2 separate regions of the Homo sapiens genome follow, and region 2 is linked to region 1. The links are contacts of gene promoters, found by promoter capture Hi-C in human tissues and cell types (Jung and others, 2019). All regions are on one chromosome and are shown on one strand. The core of a region is centred on a gene start or on the middle of the fragment in contact, and the rest is flanking DNA. Distances in the headings are between cores, read along the strand shown.

Region 1 (3,652 bases), core at 792-3,291:
CTGGGACTACAGGTGCCCGCCACCACGCCGGGCTAATTTCTTTTGTATTTTTAGTAGAGACAGGGTTTCACTGTGTTAGCCAGGATGGTCTCCATCTCCTGACCTCGTGATCCGCCCACCTCGGCCTCCCAAAGTGCTGGGATTATACGCGTGAGCCACCATGCCCAGCCAAGATGGCAAATTTAGTATGTTTAGTGCATATAAAACTATAATTTAAAGTAACAGTTAAAAACATAGCTGGGTGCCAGAAACTGTGCAGGCTGCTTTTGTGTTAAGTCTCTCATCTTAAGGGAAGCTGAACAGAGAAGAGGAAAACAGGTAATCCAAGTTCCCTAGTTCACTTACCCTGCAACAGGTACTCCATCATGTTAATGGTGCCCCCAGTGACAGGCATCATGGTGACTGGAGGTGCCTCCATGGTGTCTAAGTTGAAGACAACACAACTGGACTCAGAGCCCCCAGTCAGGTAAGGCACGGGATATACCTGGAAAAGAGTTCACTTGTTTATACATCAAAGTGGTGGAGAGAGACCAGATCTGTTGTGGCACTGGCCTTCAAATCAAAGATTCATTCATTCAAAAACGTTTGAGTATTTCCTTATATGGCCAGTTCCAGGAACTGATGACACAGAAATATAGAAAGGAGATCTGGTCATGGAGTTACAGCATTACCTTCTAGTCTCAAGTTCTGAAACCTCCACATTACCTGTGCAATCTTGAGAAAGTCCTATCTATAACCCCTCACCCTGGGACTCAATGTCTTCCTTATAAAATGAGGCCAGTGATTTTTTTTTTTTTTTTTTTTTGAGACGGAGTTTCACTCTTGTCGCCCAGGCTGGAGTGCAATGGCGCAATCTCTGTTCACTGCAGCCTCTGCCTCCCAGGTTCAAGCGATTCTCCTGTCTCAGCCTCCCGAGTAGCTGGGATTACAGGCGCCCGCAACCAAGCCCAGCTAATTTTTTTTGTATTTTTAGTAGAGACGGGGTTTCGTCATGTTGGCCAGGTTGGCCTCGAACTCCTGGCCTCAGGTGATACTCAGGTGATCCGGCCTCCCAAAGTGCTGGCATTACAGGTGTGAGCCACCGTGCCCGGCCAAAGGCCAGTGATTTTTAACTCCCAAGGCTATGTGGCTCAAACGAGATAATAAAGAGGCAACAAAATTCAGAAGAACTGAAAAAGTGACTTAAGGGACCTTCGTTTTATAGATGAGGATATTGAGACTTGGAGAGGGACAGAAGGATACACACAGCAAGTTGGTAGCAGAGTTTGGACCAAACTAACATCTAGGCGTTCTATCTCTCTGAAAATGCCTTCCCCCGTACGCTTTTCTTTTTTGGTGACAGGATCTCGCTCTGTAGCCCAGGCTGCAGTGCAGTGGGGAGTTCCTAGCTCACTATAACCTCGAACTCCTGGGCTCAAGCCGAGTAGCTGGGACTACTACAGGCGGGAGACCACACTGCGGCTAGCCTAAAAATGCCTTTTAAAGAGAGCCAAGGCCGGGCGCGGTGGCTCACGCCTGTAATCTCAGTACTTTGGGAGGCCGAGGCCGGCGGATCAACTGGAGGTTGGGAGTTCGAGACCAGCCTGACCAACATGAAGAAACCCCGACTCTACTAAAAATACAAAAAATTAGCCAGGCCTGGTGGCGAGCGCCTGTAATCCCAGCTCCTCAGGAGGCTGAGGCAGGAGAATCGCTTGAACCCGGAAGGCGAGGTTGCGGTGAGCCGAGATCGCGCCATTGCACTCCAGCCTGGGCAACAAGAGCGAAACTCCGTCTCAAAAAAAAAAAAAAAAAAAAAAAGAGAGAGAGAGCCAAGGGGAAGTTATTTTAAGATGATGGTATATAGGTCCTTCTAAGCCGGCATCCATAACACGTATCCAATTAAACACTAGAAGCACACCTCCTTGAGGCTGTAGTGTCTTCTCGAGAAGCCGGGAATTATATCCACCCGCGCACCTAGGAGCTTTTGAGCGACGATTAGATACCAGCACTCCGGTTACCCGAGCCCGGGAAGCCCCCAGATCGGTGCAACCAGCCAACTTCCTCCTCTTCTCACTTCCGGTCGGAAGCCGACGTCTCACAAACCTCGAAACTGCCGTTCCCAAACGTATGGGTGCCGAGAAGGCCGAAGAGCTTCATTGCGGACAGACAATCAGAGGCGCATGCGCAAAATTCCGGGCTGCTGTATGAAAGATGGCGGCCTCCTTTGGCGCTTTCCTCCGGGCGCTACCTGGATCCTTGACGTCATAGGCCATGCTCTAGGAAAATCTTTTTAGGTTTGACAACCTGGAGATGTATTTGTGTAGAAAGTCTCTTGGAACTGATAGGACTTACAGAGATTATAGTGGGTTTCAAAAGAAAAAAGAACTGAGGGGTTGGGCGCGGTGGCTCACGCCTGTAACCCCAGCACTTTGGGAGGCCGAGGCAGGCGGATCACTTGAGGTCAGGAGTTCGAGACCAGCCTGGCCAAGATGGTAAAACTCCGTCTCCATTAAAAATACAAAAATTAGCCGGGCATGGTGACGCGCGCCTGTAATCCCAGCTACTAGGGAGGCTGAGGTGGGAGAATCGCTTGAACGCGGGAGGCGGAAGTTGCAGCGAACCGAGATCGCGCCACTGCATTGTAGCCTGGGCTACAGAGAGAGACTCTGTCTCAAAAAAAAAAAAGAGTCTGGAAAAGGAGTAGGTCCAGATCCAGGAGTACTCTGCAGTGCCATACCAAAGAATACATGTGAGCTTTAAAAGAACCCTGGCTACAACATGGAGAAAAGTTTGGGAAAGGAGAGAGCCTAGAGAAAAAAGACCAGGCCGGACACGGTGGCTCAGGCCTGTAATCCCAGCACTTTGGGAGGCCAAGGCGGGCAGATGGCTTGAGTTCAGGAATTCAAGACCAGCCTGAACAACATGGTGAAACCCTGTGTCTACAAAAAATACAAAAAATTAGCTGAACGTAGTGGCTCGCACCTGCAGTCCCAGCTACTTGGGAGGCTGAGGTGGGAGGATTGCTTGAGTCCAGGAGGCAGAGGTTGCAGTGAGCTGAGATAGCGCCACTGCACTCCAGCCTGTGCAACAGAGGGAGATCCTGTCTGGAAAAAAATTAAAGAAAAACGACCAGTTAGGCGCTTTGGTACAACTCCAGCTGAGAAACAAATGTCAGAAAAAGATTTTAAAAATGTAAAAAGAGGACAGGCGCGGTGGCTCACGCCTGTAATCCCAGCACTTTGGGAGGCCGAGGGGGGTGGATCACGAGGTCAGGAGATCGAGACCATCCTGGCTAACGGTGAAACCCTGTCTCTACTAAAAATACAGAAAATTAGCTGGGCGTAGTGGCGGGCGCCTGTAGTCCCAGCTACTTGGGAGGCTGAGTCAGGAGAATGGTGTGAACCTGGGAGACAGAGCTGGCAGTGAGCCGAGATCGCACCACTGCACTTTAGCCTGGGCGACAGAGCAAGACTCCGGCTCAAAAAAAAAAGTAAAAAGAGGAAATTAGCCGGGTGTGGTGGCACACGCCTGTAGTCCCAGCTACTCAGGTGGCTCAGGTGGTCAAGAGACCAAAATTGCTTGAACCCAGGAGGCAGAGGTTGTAGTGAGCTGAAATTGCACCACTGCTCTCCAGCCTGGGCTACAGAGCAAGACTCTGTCCTCTATATAT
Region 2 (3,652 bases), core at 522-3,021, 430 kb before region 1:
CATGCAGAGTCTTTTGAATGAAGTACGGAGATCAAAACTTTCAAGTCTCTAATAGCAAAGCAACTTTTTATTCAACAGACATCACTGGCATCTGCAGTCATCTGTTACCTCTCTGCAGCCTCTGAGTTAAGTGTACTCTACCATACTGCTTGAAGTTCCATACAGGCTGTGTATCCCCTATCTGAAATTCTTGGGGTAAGAAATGTTTTGGATTTCAGATTTTTTGAATATTTGTAGATACATACTGGTTGAGCAACCCTAATCTGAAAATCCAAAATAGGAAATGCTCCAATGAACATTTTCTTCAGTGTCATGTGTGCACTCAGTTTCAGACTTTGGGGCATTTCAGATTTTCAAATTAGGAATACTCAACCTGAATAGCCCCTTCCTTGTTCTCTTTCTGAAACTCAAACTATTCTCTCTCAATCTCTTTCACTTGCTCCCTCTTTATTCTTCAAATTTTGTTATTTCTGGGGAACTTTTTCCATAGTCCTTTTCTCTCACTCGTGTTGGCTCTAGAACCACGCTGCAGAATTAGAACACCAGCTTTACTTTCGTATCTCATGTGCCTTTGCAAAGTTATTTACTCTTTTCTGTGTTTTAATGTTTTCATCAGTAAAACTGAGCTACTTATACCTACCTCACAAGGATACAAGAATTAAATGAACATACATTTAAATATATATTCAAGACAACTGTATGCTAGACACTGTACAGAGCATTCAATAACTGTTAGCCATTCTTATTACAAGAATCTTTGAAAAGTCAAACTCTTCCATGCCTTTACCTATCCTGAGGGTTGAAAATTCAAATTCCTGTCAACAATCTGAGCTCCAGATTCCCAGCTGCCTACTATCACCTGGCTGCTGCTACTATCACAGGCACCTGAAACTATTTCCAAAAGCCAATACAACCCCAAATCCTAACCCTAAACTGCTGCTCCTCTCATCATCTTTAATTTTTGAAAAACTAGTCAACAAATATGTCTACCACATTCTTCATATCCAGTTTCCCGTTCCCACTGTCCTGGTTCAGGCCCTCATCATCTTTTTTTCCCCAGAATACTGTAAAAGCATCTCGTTTAGTCTCTGAGCCATCTCCCACCCCTTTTTTTTTTTTTTTTTTTTTGAGCTGTCACCCAGGCTGGAATGCAGTGTTGCGATCTCGGCTCACTGTAACCTCTGCCTCCCAGGTTCAAGTGATTCTCATCCCTCAGCTCCCTGAGTAGCTGGGACTATAGGACTATAGGCACACACCACCACTCTTGGCTAATTTTTTTGTTTGTTTGAGACGAAGTTTTGCTCTCATTGCCCAGGCTGGAGTGCAGTGGAGCAATCTCGGCTCACTGCAACTGCCGCCTTCTGGTTTCAAGTGATTCTCCTGCCCCAGCCCCCTGAATACAGGCACCCACCACCACGCCCAGCTAATTTTTTAGTAGAGATGGGGTTTCACCATGTTGCCAGGCTGGTCTTGAACTCCTGACCTTGCGAACTACCCACCTCAGCCTCCCAAAGTGCTGGGATTACAGGCATGAGCCACCGCGCCCGGCCAATTTTTTTTTTGAGACACAGTCTCGCTCTTTCGCCCAGGCTGGAGTGCAGTAGCGCTATCTCAGCTCACTGCAAACTCCGCCTCCAGTGTTCACACCATTCTCCTGCCTCAGCCTCCTGAGTAGCTGGGACTACAGGCGCCCGTCACCACGCCCGGCTAATTTTTTTGTATTTTTAGTAGAGACAGTGTTTCGCCATGTTGGCCAGGCTGGTATCAAACTCATGGCCTCAAATGACCTGCCAACCTTGGCCTCCCAAAGTGCTGGAATTAGAGGCGTGAGCCAACTCACCCAGCCTCATAGATGTTTTGATAAGTTGCTTTCCTAAGCTTCCATTTGTTGATCTATAAATACAGGATACTGCCTCCCAGGTTGGTATGGGGATTAAAGTAAGGCTATGAAAGTACCTAGCATGGTGCTTAACAAGGTCAATGCTCAGTAAGTGTTTCATCCTTCCCATCCTCCAAACTGTTATTCCCTAATTAACTACCCTCCCTTACAACCAAACTAAAACACAGGTAAAGAATAAAATCCTAGGCCGAGCGCAGTGGCTCACACCTGTGATCCCAGCACTTTGGGAGGCCAAGGCAGGCAGATCACCTGAGGTCAGGAGTTTGAGACCAGCCTAGCCAACATGATGAAACCCTGTCACCACTAAAAATACAAAAATTAGCTGGGCGTGGTGACAGGCACCTGTAATCCCAGCTACTCGGGAGGCTGAGGCAGGAGAATCGCTTGAACCTGGGAGGGGGAGGCTGCAGCGAGCCAAGATCGCGCCATTGCACTCCAGCCTGGGGGACAAAGCGAGATTTTTGTCTCAGAAAAAAAAAAAAAAAAAGAATAAAATCCTGAAACTCTTCATATACTTGCCCAACCAATCTCTCCAGCGTTATCACTTACCATTCTAGACCACATTAAACTTCTCATTCTGAAAACATACCATAAGCATTCTCAAGACTATGTTTTTAACATGCTCTTACTAGAATGCCATTTTTTGGAAGACAGGGTCTCACTGTGCCCAGACTGGAGTACAGTGGTACCATCATGACTCACTGCAGACTTGACGTCCCGGGCTCAAGCAATCCTCCTGTCTCAGCCTCCTGAGCAACTAGGACTACAGGTGTGCCTCATCACACCTGGCTGATTTTTTTTTTTTTTTTTTTTTTTTTTTTTTTTTTTTTTTTGGAGAGGCAGGATTTCATTATGTTGCCTAGGCTGGTCTCAAACTCCTGGGTTCAAGTGATTCTCTTGCTGCAGCCTCCCCAAAGTGCGAGGATTACGGGCATGAGCCACTGCACCTAGCCATTTCTCTACTTTTCTATCTGGCAAACTTCATAGATCATGGAGTAGTCCATGAGCTTCGGGGTTAGAGACTCAGTGGCTCTCCAGGTGTAAGTTCCAATATACAAACATGAAACATGTTTTGAGCAACTTCTTTGCTAAACTGGGTAATAGTTTTTCAAATATTAGAATATTTCCTCAAAAAAATTTTTTTTTCTAGGGACAGTCTCCTGCTGTCACCCAGGCTGGGGTGCAGTGGCATGATCACAGCTCATTGCAGCTTTCATTTCCTGGACTCAAGCAATCCTCCTGCCTCAGCCTCCTGAGTAGCTATACTTTAGTTATGCGCCACCAAGTCTGGTTAATTTTTTTTAAATTTTTTGTAGAGACAAGGTCTCGCTATGCTGCCCAGGCTGGTCTCAAACTCCTGAGCTCAGGCAATCCTCCCACCTCAGCCTCCCAAAGTGTTGGGATTACAGGTGTGAGCCACTGTGCAGGACAAATTTTTGTGTTATTGAAAAAAAATGTTTAAGAGCTACAGTCGTGACACACAAATTTAATCTGCAATCAATATTTTCTCCATCACTATGAAGTCTAGACAATCAGCAAAAATTAAACATTGATTTATATACAGCATTTGTCAATTTCCACGATGTAACTAACAGCTGGGCCAGGCATGGTGGCTCACACCTGTAATCCCAGCACTTTGGGAGGCCGAGGCAGGCAGATCACAAGGTCAGGGGTTCGAGACCAGCCTGACCAATATGGTGAAACCTCGCTTCTACTAAAAATACAAAAATTAGCCGGGAGTGGTGGCAAGCA

What was found. Contacts are between HindIII fragments. The study calls those that stand out against the background at their distance.
Region 2: a fragment that was not itself captured here is called in contact with the fragment with the promoter of MED18 in region 1 in 1 of the 25 tissues and cell types used here (dorsolateral prefrontal cortex).

What each region holds. Positions count from the first base shown.
Region 1 is chr1:28,327,429-28,331,080 of GRCh38, reverse strand. It overlaps MED18 (mediator complex subunit 18), which reads right to left and starts at 2,041. Exons shown (of 3, transcript NM_017638.3): 1 at 1,901-2,041; 2 at 346-484. The coding sequence starts at 418. RefSeq lists enhancers at 992-1,499, 1,500-2,007. The HindIII fragment of the contact is 33,273 bases long and covers 1-3,652 here.
Region 2 is chr1:28,752,440-28,756,091 of GRCh38, reverse strand. The region is part of intron 4 of YTHDF2 (YTH N6-methyladenosine RNA binding protein F2); the gene reads right to left. Among named protein-coding and RNA genes, the nearest start is that of YTHDF2, 17 kb to the right of the region's middle. RefSeq lists an enhancer at 1,082-1,581. The HindIII fragment of the contact is 8,261 bases long and covers 1-3,652 here.